3 separate regions of the Homo sapiens genome follow, and all the other regions are linked to region 3. The links are contacts of gene promoters, found by promoter capture Hi-C in human tissues and cell types (Jung and others, 2019). All regions are on one chromosome and are shown on one strand. The core of a region is centred on a gene start or on the middle of the fragment in contact, and the rest is flanking DNA. Distances in the headings are between cores, read along the strand shown.

What was found. The method cuts DNA at HindIII sites, captures the fragments that hold promoters and counts their contacts. A contact is called where the count stands out against the background at its distance.
Region 1: a fragment that was not itself captured here is called in contact with the fragment with the promoter of SLC5A1 in region 3 in 5 of the 25 tissues and cell types used here (H1 embryonic stem cells, IMR-90 fibroblasts, heart right ventricle and 2 more).
Region 2: a contact is called between a fragment that was not itself captured here and the fragment with the promoter of SLC5A1 in region 3, in 2 of the 25 tissues and cell types used here (dorsolateral prefrontal cortex and neural progenitor cells).

Annotation. Positions count from the first base shown.
Region 1 is chr22:32,340,245-32,343,152 of GRCh38, reverse strand. It overlaps LOC107985561 (a long non-coding RNA gene), which reads left to right. Exons shown (of 2, transcript XR_001755500.2): 1 at 1-141. It also overlaps a transcript of SLC5A4 not described here. Among named protein-coding and RNA genes, the nearest start is that of RFPL3, 16 kb to the left of the region's middle. The HindIII fragment of the contact is 3,874 bases long and covers 1-2,908 here.
Region 2 is chr22:32,433,049-32,436,248 of GRCh38, reverse strand. It overlaps BPIFC (BPI fold containing family C), which reads left to right. Exons shown (of 17, transcript NM_174932.3): 10 at 369-545; 11 at 2,477-2,530. Among named protein-coding and RNA genes, the nearest start is that of RTCB, 22 kb to the right of the region's middle. The HindIII fragment of the contact is 8,775 bases long and covers 1-3,200 here.
Region 3 is chr22:32,041,738-32,044,952 of GRCh38, reverse strand. SLC5A1 (solute carrier family 5 member 1) reads right to left here and starts at 1,692. Exons shown (of 15, transcript NM_000343.4): 1 at 1,537-1,692. The coding sequence starts at 1,671. The HindIII fragment of the contact is 11,764 bases long and covers 1-3,215 here.

The sequences.
Region 1 (2,908 bases), core at 161-2,660, 300 kb before region 3:
GTTTATTTCACAGTTTGAGATGACATGGTCATAAAGACCTTTGTCACCTTCAGAATGCAGCAAAGCATGAGAGAGTATTAGAAGGCCGCTGAGAAAGACAAACAAGTTTTAGGATTACAGAAGTATTCAACAACCAACCATGTAAGATCTGAAAGGGATGATTTTTTCAGTTCTGTGTTTGATTAAATACTCAACTGTACAGGAGCCATGGCTACATGGCAGGGATTGGGGGAAAAAAGACAAAACTTGGAAATAGCAGTTGTCAACAATGTGATCTAGCAGCCAAAAAGCTAGTTTTCTCATGCTCTGTATTAATTGAAGTGAATATTTTTTGACTCTAATTTTGAATATGCCATTTTGTTCTGATGGGTGTTTTCCTCTCCAGAATGTTAGCTGGCATGTTTGGGAATCCAGATTTGAATCAGAATTATTATAATATTGAATAACTTTTATTGGGAAAGTATTTTCCAGTGGACACTATTAAATAAGCTTAATTTTAAATTAATTTCATATGAAGTAGAAGTAAATTACTTCTAAGTATTGCTTAAATAAGCTTAATTTTTAAATTAATTTTATATGAAGTAGAAGTAAATTCTAAGTACTTCTATTTTGATTTTTAATTTATTAAGATTATTAACTTTCACAAAGAAATTTTGGGTTGTTTTTGTTTATCTTAAAGTCTGTGGATTTCAGCTCCTGCTAGTGGTTTTTTTCTCTCTATAGTTATATCTACCAGGTCTCATTCACATAGATTAGTTATTACAAATCTTGATTATTGTCAAGATTTGCTTCTTCCATCATTATTAGTTACAGATTTTATTCTGTGTGGTTTTAGGCTTCTACAATGTTACTTGGTGTTGTTTCTACCAGGTCTAATTTTTCCTGGGTCAAATTTTTTTGTGTTCTTTGAAATCAAAAGGAAGAGGTTCTCAAGTCAGTTCTTACATCTAAAGCAAACTTCATGTTTTAGTTATAATGTGTAGCATTAGCCATTTGTGTAGCATTAGCCATTTTCAGTTTTATTTTATGCTAATTCCTGCTACCATTTATTTAGCACATAGGGTTTGAGTTTGTATCATATACCAGGGACTGTACTAGCCACTGGTGATACATTGGTGAACAGAGCTTACGGTCTGCCTGGGGAGACAAAGAAAATAAAATGCTTTTGTAATAACAATAAAATTTCAAGTAGTGTTAAATGTCGGGGAGAAAATGAAGCGATCCAGGGAGATCTCTCTAACGAGAGGCAATTTAAGCAGAGACCTGAATATGCTCTTTACTCACATAGTTTCATGGTTCACTCAGGTGGAGGGAGTGAAATGTAAAAAGGGCATGAGTTGAAAACACGCTGGGTGTATTTGGAGAACAGCAAGAAAGGCAGCGTTAGGCAGAGTGCATTAGCAGAAGAAGTGTAGGAAATGAAGAGGTTGGCAGGGGCAGAACATAAGGGGCCATTTAGGCCACGGATAGGACTTCAGAATTACTCAGTTGTGGCAAGAAGCATTTGGTAGGTTTTGAAGGATGCTCTCCGGCGTCACGTCCGTGAGCCTTCCCCGCTGTTCACGGCTCTGTTGAAGACAGTGCTCTGCTGTCCCAGGATTCACGGTCCACTGGACTAAGCACTGGTCAGCCAGGGGAGGAGGAGCCAACACAAAGAGTTTCAGTGGATGAGTAGCTAGGAGTTCACCAAAGTGGGGAAAGGTCATCCCGGCAGAGAGGGCAGCATAGGCAGAGCCTCGGAGGAGGGAGGGGCTGAGGGGAACTGGGGAGCCCTGGGTCCTCTGCCCCACAGGCTCCTGGCCCCTCACGGCCGCCCTTCTTGCTCCTCTTTGCGGCTCCATCCTCATCTCCCTGATCTTAGAGACCAGGGCTCTTCCCTTTAACTTCTCTCTCATCTCCACCCACTCCCTGGGGACCCCCACCCAGACCCACAGCTCCAATCCTGTCCACCTCCCAGTCTTTCTCCCCTGGTCTCTCTCCCTTGAATCCAGACTAGCTGTTCATTGCAGAGCCTGAGTCCTCAAGAGCAGCTCTTGGATACCCCATAGACGTGGGAGACTGGCACATCCACGTCCCCGCTGCCTCCTACCATCTCATTGGCTCCTCTCTTTCTTTCCTGTTTCACGTGTTCCATCAGCAATACCTTGAAAATGAAGCCAGAATCCATCCGCACCCACCCCTCCACTGAGACCAGCCCTCCTTGTCCGTCGTCTTTGGCCAGGATGGAGGCAGCCGCCTCCGCATGTCTCCCTGATGCCAGCCTGTGTCCCCGACAGTGGCAGGGCGATCTTTTAAAAACATTAAGTCAAGACGTGCCGATGGTCTCCTTTGCACTTAGGAATCAAAATGCTTTCCTTGGCCAACAACATGATCTGACCCCACCCCACCCCACTGTCCCTCTGTCCTCATCTCCCGACACTGGCACTTGGCTGCAGCCGCACCAGCCCCGCTGCTGTTCCTCCAACCAGACCTCTCCCCTCCGGGATACCAGCAGGGCTCATGCCTCCCTTCCACAGCCCCTGCTCAGGGTCACCCGATCAAAGGGGCCTTCTCTGACCAAGGTTTACAAAATAGAAGCAGCCACCTACTCCCGTCACTCTCCCTTTGTCCTCCTTCAGCTGCCTTGTCACGTGCGTCGCCGCCTGACATAACGTTTGCTTTGTGGCTTTGTGCCTGTCTCCTCTGCTGGATGGAAACCCCAAGAGAGTTGGGATTGGTGTTTCTTGTGCTCAGCTGTGACCCCAGCATATAGAACAGTGCCTGACACATAGTAGGTGCTCAGTACATCCATGTTGCATGAATGAATCTTCCTGCCCAGTGCCTTGTGCACAGAAGGCACCTAGACAGTGTCCGATCAATGAACTGCATTAGTACCGTTAGTAACAGTAGCTCCCATTTGTTGAGGGCT
Region 2 (3,200 bases), core at 29-2,528, 390 kb before region 3:
AGTCACAATTCACTGCAGCTTCAACCTCCCTGGTTCAAGGGATTCACCTCACTCAGCCTCCCAAGTAGCCGGAACTACAGGTACGCGCCACCACACCTGGCTAATTTTTGTATTTTTTATAGAAACGGGGCCTGCCATGTTGCCCAGGTTGATCATGGAAAAACAGTCATTCAATCAATTCAAACTCCAGTGTTCCAGTGATTCACCCGCCTCAGCCTCCCAAAGTGTTGGGATTATAGGCGTGAGCCACCACACCTGGCCCGAGCTTCTGGAATTCTTATTCTGACTTCAGAGGGTCCATCTTCTTAGTCTTCTTAGAATTTGAGTTTTCACCTGATACACTGGTCTTTCTCTCTCTTTTCCCACAGGGTGTATTCTACCCACTGGAAAACCTCACCGACCCCCCCTTCTCACCAGTTCCTTTTGTGCTCCCAGAACGCAGCAACTCCATGCTCTACATTGGAATCGCCGAGTATTTCTTTAAATCTGCGTCCTTTGCTCATTTCACAGCTGGGGTTTTCAATGTCACTCTCTCCACCGAAGAGGTGAGGAGAGTTAACTGAGGATGTCAATGGTCACCATCATTCAGCCTTTTTATAAGTATCCTATTGTAGAACTTTTATGCCACAATTTCGATTCTGGGACCTTTTTAGGCTATCACTCCCAGCAAGACAGTGAAGGAATGAGGGAATTGTGGAGTGAACATTGTTACGGGTTGAGCATCCCTTATCCAAAATGCTTGGGACCAGAAGTGTTCTGGATTTCGGATTTTGTCAGATTTTGGGATATTTGCATTATATATACTTACCGGTTGAGCAGCCCTAATCTGAAAATCCAAAATCTAAAATGCTCCAATAAGCATTTCCGTTGTGTATCATGTCAGCATTTAATAGTTGGATTTTGGGGCACTTTGAATTTTGGATATTCAGATTAGGAATGTTCAACCTGTATTAGTTGGGGAGTTGTCAAGTTTCCAGTTCTGCTAATACCTCACCACTCACCACTGTTCTAGATTAATCTCCAATAATAGCAAGATCCCTTTCCATCATGTATTGCCTGTGACCTTAGAGGTAATTTCAATTTATATAACTTCTGTGGGCCAGAATTTCTTCATCTGGAAAAGGCAGATAATAATAGTTCCTTACTCATAGAGTTTATATGGGCATTAAAAGATTTAAATACATGTCAAGCATTCAGACCAATCCCCAACACAGAATAAGTGCGATATAACTGTTGCTTATCATCATTGTCATCATTATTCCCTGTATTATGCTGACGTAAAGTTATCCTGGTTGTAATTACAGCTGGTTTATCTACAATGATCAGTAATAATACAGATATTCATTGATCCTCTGTCATGCACCTCCCTTTTATAATGACAGCACTGTCTCTAGCCAGTCAACCAAAAACTTTTATTGAGCATCTCTTTTTGAATCTCCTCATTCTATATGTTTTAATTATATAAGTAGGTATAAAGCTTATGTTCAGAATGGTAAGTATGGCAGCAGTGGCTATCTTACGATACTGAGAATTAGACACTTCTAGCTGCAGACTTCAAAATCATTTATCTCTGAAGGTAAATTCCTTAAGCATCCAGTATCTCAGTAATCCCTAAAAGTGAGGACAGTAACACAAGGCTTATCGTTAATGACTGTAGAATATGTATACATAGATAGATTGTAATATATATAAGTGAAGAATATGTACACATAGATTGTAATATATATATAAATAAAGACTATGTACATATAGATTGTAATATATATAAATGAAGAATATGTACACATAGATGTAATATATATAAATAATATGTATACATAGATTGTAATATATATAAAGAATATGTACACATAGATTGTAATATATATAAATAAAGAATATGTACACATAGATTGTAATATATATAAATGAAGAATATGTACACAGAGTGTAATATATATATAAAGACTATGTACATATAGAGTGTAATATATAAATGAAGAATATGTACACATAGATTGTAATATATATAAATAAAGAATATGTACACATTAGATTGTAATATACATAAATAAAGAATATGTACACATAGATAGATTGTAATATATATATAAAGAATATGTACACATAGATAGGTTGTAATATATAAAAATAAAGAATATGTACATATAGATATATATATATATAACTAAAACTTTGTTGTACTACATACGTACAATTCATGTGTAAACATTCTACAGTTATTAACAATAGACTGTATTGTTCCCAGAGTTAAAAGAAATATAACATCCTGTGTGACCTTGGGCAAGTCACTTTACTTCTCTGAGCCTCGGATTCCCTATGATTGGGCTATAAAATGATAGGTCACCTTTAAACACTGAATATTTTATGGTGTAACAGCTTCACAATTCGTCAAATTATAGGGAACACTACATTTTCCCTGAAAAGACAATCCACGTAAAATCCTAACAGTGACATAATGGGCTTTATTTTCCAGATTTCCAACCATTTTGTTCAAAACTCTCAAGGCCTTGGCAACGTGCTCTCCCGGGTAAGTGCTCAGGGTTTGAGTCTTGATAGTGTATTTGGCTCCATTGCAATTACTTCTGGAAGACTTGTGGGTTCTACGTATTCCTTTTTGGATAAGTCCCTCTGTCTATTATTGGGAGTTTTTTCTCGTAATCGAATATCTACAAATATTTACTGAACAGTACAGTTTAAAGTGCAATTAACATACAAGTGAGAGTATAATTGTAAGTTCACAAAATAAATCACCGTGCCTTCCACAATATTCCATCATACTTGAAATAATTAGTTTAAATAAAGGATTTATTAGTGGAAATGAAGGATTCAATTCTTAAATGAAGGATTAGTGCCCACACTTGTAACTGTAGTAAAAAGCAACTGTTAATATTGTGCCTTCGTAGCACACTAAGTATTGAACATAATGAACCTACGGGCTAGGGATTGCCCTTGAGGACAAAGAGATGTTCATGTAGCATCCTGGTTCTAGAGCAAGGATCTTGAGTCAGATAGACCTAGATTTGTTTTTGTTTGTTTGTTTTTTGAGACAGGGTCTCGCTCTGTCATCCAGGCTGGAGTGCAGTGGCACGATCTTGGCTCACTGCAATATCCGCCTCCCCTGCTCAAGTGATCCTCCCAACTCAGCCTCCCAAGTAGCTGGGACTACAGGCACAAGCCACTATGCCCAGCTAATTTTT
Region 3 (3,215 bases), core at 443-2,942:
TAAAAATATACTACCCACCTGACCACTGCTGCCCATTTTACTTAAAAGGATAAACATTGTTCAGAGCCCAGATCATACCATGGAAGGTAAATGACAATAGTAGTTTTTTTTAATCCTAGAGTCCATAAACAGCTTTCAGATTCACCTCTGCGTATCCTCACCACAACCATGGGGGAGTCATTAGAATAGATAAGAGTGTACCTATGTTAAAGTTGAGTAAACTGGAGGCTGAGGGAAGTTACCCAATGTTCCATGATTTGAACCATGTGAAAGCCAGTAGTGAACTTGAGTATCCTGGCTCCTAGTTGGTCAGTTTCCACTATGTCTGGGAAGCTGAGAGTATTGAGGAAAAGTCAGCCATACTGACCCCATGTGACACTTGGGAGGCATTCTGCCACATCTAGTTTCTACAATTCCTTTGGAAAAAAAAAAAAAAACACTTCCTTTTGTCCCTGAAAAAGCTCTGTGTCCACAGAAGTGTTCATGCCTACCTTCCTCTCCTCTAAGTCAAAAGAGTTCAACACAATCACCAGCTGCTACAGCAGCCTCCCTGGGCTTATCACCTCCACCTCCATAACAATCACGAGAATGGCTGGAACATCTGCAAACATTTTATATATTTTTTGTAATTTTTTTTATTTTTGTAGAGACAGAGTCTCACTATGTTGCCCAGGCTGATCTCGAACTCCTGGACTCAAGCAATCCTCCCACCTTGGCCTCTCAAAGTGCTAGGATTACAGGAGTGAACCACCACAGTCGGTCCTGCACACTTTTAAAACATCTCCTCCTCTAGTTGTTGGGCCTGCCACAGTCTGTCATAAGTGAAATGCCCATGTTCCAGGTGGCTGAGAACAAGTTTCTCTGGTTTGCTGTGTCCCCAGAGTCCCAAAAGGAGACACACACATTTCCCTCTCCCCAGTGCCAGGTCACCCCCAGGTCTTCCTCCTCCTCCTTTTCCACCCATCTTTCTCATCTCTAACTTGATCCAGCCCCTGGGATCCTCATGCACAAGGCCTCTGGGTTAGCCTCTCCCAGGAGTGGGGCATGGGTCAGCATCCCTCTGTCTGCCACCTCAGCATCCCCATCTCTGGGGCTGGCAGAGGCTGTGGCTTTCCCACTCCACACCATTTCTTTCCCATCTGAAACTGGATGACTAAAAGGTAGGACAGTAGTCACCTGCTAGAGGCTCATCTCCCAAGCCCCAGAGCCCTCCCTGTAGCTCTAAGCAGCCGCTTTCCTGCCCCTTACACTTTCCAGCGGTCTCTTCAAACCCCCACCTTCCTTCTCTGCTCACAGGCTCAGGTATCCTCCTTGGTCCTTCCTGGCAGGCTGCCCTGGGCACCCTTCTCACTTCTGCTCATCCTTGCTTGCCCTCCTCCCTTCATGCTGTGCCTCTGAGTGCTTCTAAAGTGCTTCCAAGTCATTTCCTCTCCCCTCCACCGACACTTAAGCCTACTGCCCCTTGCAGCTCAGCGAGGCCATTGCTCCTCCTCTGTGCGCACCCTCCCCACCCGCATCCCAGAACCCGCTGCATACCCACAGTCCGACGGCCATCACTACCACGAAGTAGATAACGATGATGGAGATATCGGCTGCATTGCGAATGAGCTCGTGGGTCTCAACAGGCCGGGTGACCGCGGTGGTCTTGGGGCTCCAGGTGCTACTGTCCATGGTGGCAGCGTTGCGTCCTTCCCTCTCGCCAGGGCCGCTAGCTCCTTATACGGCCTCCTGGTTAATGATCAGCACCAGGGGAGGGGACCTGGGACTTTGAGGGAGCAGGGCAGTAGCGCGGGGCCCCTGCGATGCCTTGCGGCTGCACCGTCAGGAAGCAGCTCCGGGCGTGGAGCCCAGGAAGGAGCACCCGGCTGAGCTGTTGGCTGGGGCGGCGGCCCGGCAGGTAAGAGCTGTCCTGCGAATGGGGAGGGGCCAGCCAGGGGGTGGTGCCCGCCTGGCACAAAGGCCCACTGTACTCCCACAGCAGGCACCAGCAGCGCCACCACACCTGCCCTTGCCAGAGCTGGAGTGGCTCCATTGAGGGAACAGGCCACCTGGGGCTAGGAGCCTAGAGGCTTCAGATCACCTGCCACCCATCCTTGGACTAGTCCCATGCCTTCTAAGGACTTGGCTTGTCCGCTTGTAAAATGGGTGCAGCACTCTTCTGAAGAATCAGTCAAGTCTTGTTCTCCCTGGAGAACATTCTTGAGAGGACAGAGAGTTGCTGGGTGTCACTGGAAAAAAACCAGCACAATCCTAATCTCTTGGCCACAAGGACAGCCACCCACCCACCCACATTCCTGACTCCCCCTCCACAGCCTGCAGCCCCCAGGTCCACTGTTACCCCCACTGTAAAGAGGAAGAAACTGAGACTGGGGGAAGGGATCTCACCGGGAGCTATTTCCTTGCCCTGTCCCTCTCCCAGTATTGATGCAGGGCCCTCCAGAGGCAGCAGAAGGGAAGATACTAGAGAACCCTTTCCAAGGAGTTCATCAAACCCTGACCTTCCTGGGGACTCAGCTCACCCATCTGGAAACACATGTCTAAACAGCAAGCCAGGGCTCAGAACAGAGATGACCAAGAGAGGAGGCATGACTTGCCCAAGGTCATACAGGAAACCAGCAGCAGAGCTGGCCCTGCAGCCCATGCCAGGGTTCAGAGGGAGGGCTGTGGGGTATTCTCAGGGGCTGGCTCTAGAGGCCACAGAGCAGCCAAAAGTGACTGTTCCCAAAGAGGGGGGCCTTGCTCTGATGGGGAGGTGCAGGGAGGCAGAGGACCACAGAAACCCTGCCAGGACTCTGGTCTGCCTCAGGCCCTCCCTGCCCACTGCTAGACAACCACCCACTGCCTAAATGTGAGCATCCTGTTCCTTTGCACTCAATGCTTCAGAGGTCTGCCTCCCCTCCTTCCGTATCAGCAACTGTTCTTCCCACTGAAGCTGCAGACAAAGAATCATTATTTGGACAGCATCCCCACAGGTCTTCCCCATTTCCCCCACACATCCCCCAGGACTGCAAACTATATAAGGCTATGTCCTGGGGCCAGTATAATGCCTGCCCAAAGGAAGCAGGAATTCTTACGAGGAACCTGAAAGCAGGGGCTGTCTGCTGTGGATGCCTCCCAAGACTTAGAGCTCAGCTGTCAGCTGCAGCTTGGAGCAACTCGCCTTTTGCCTGTGTTCATTCATTCCTGCATTCAGCCAAGTTTTTTCACCTGAATGT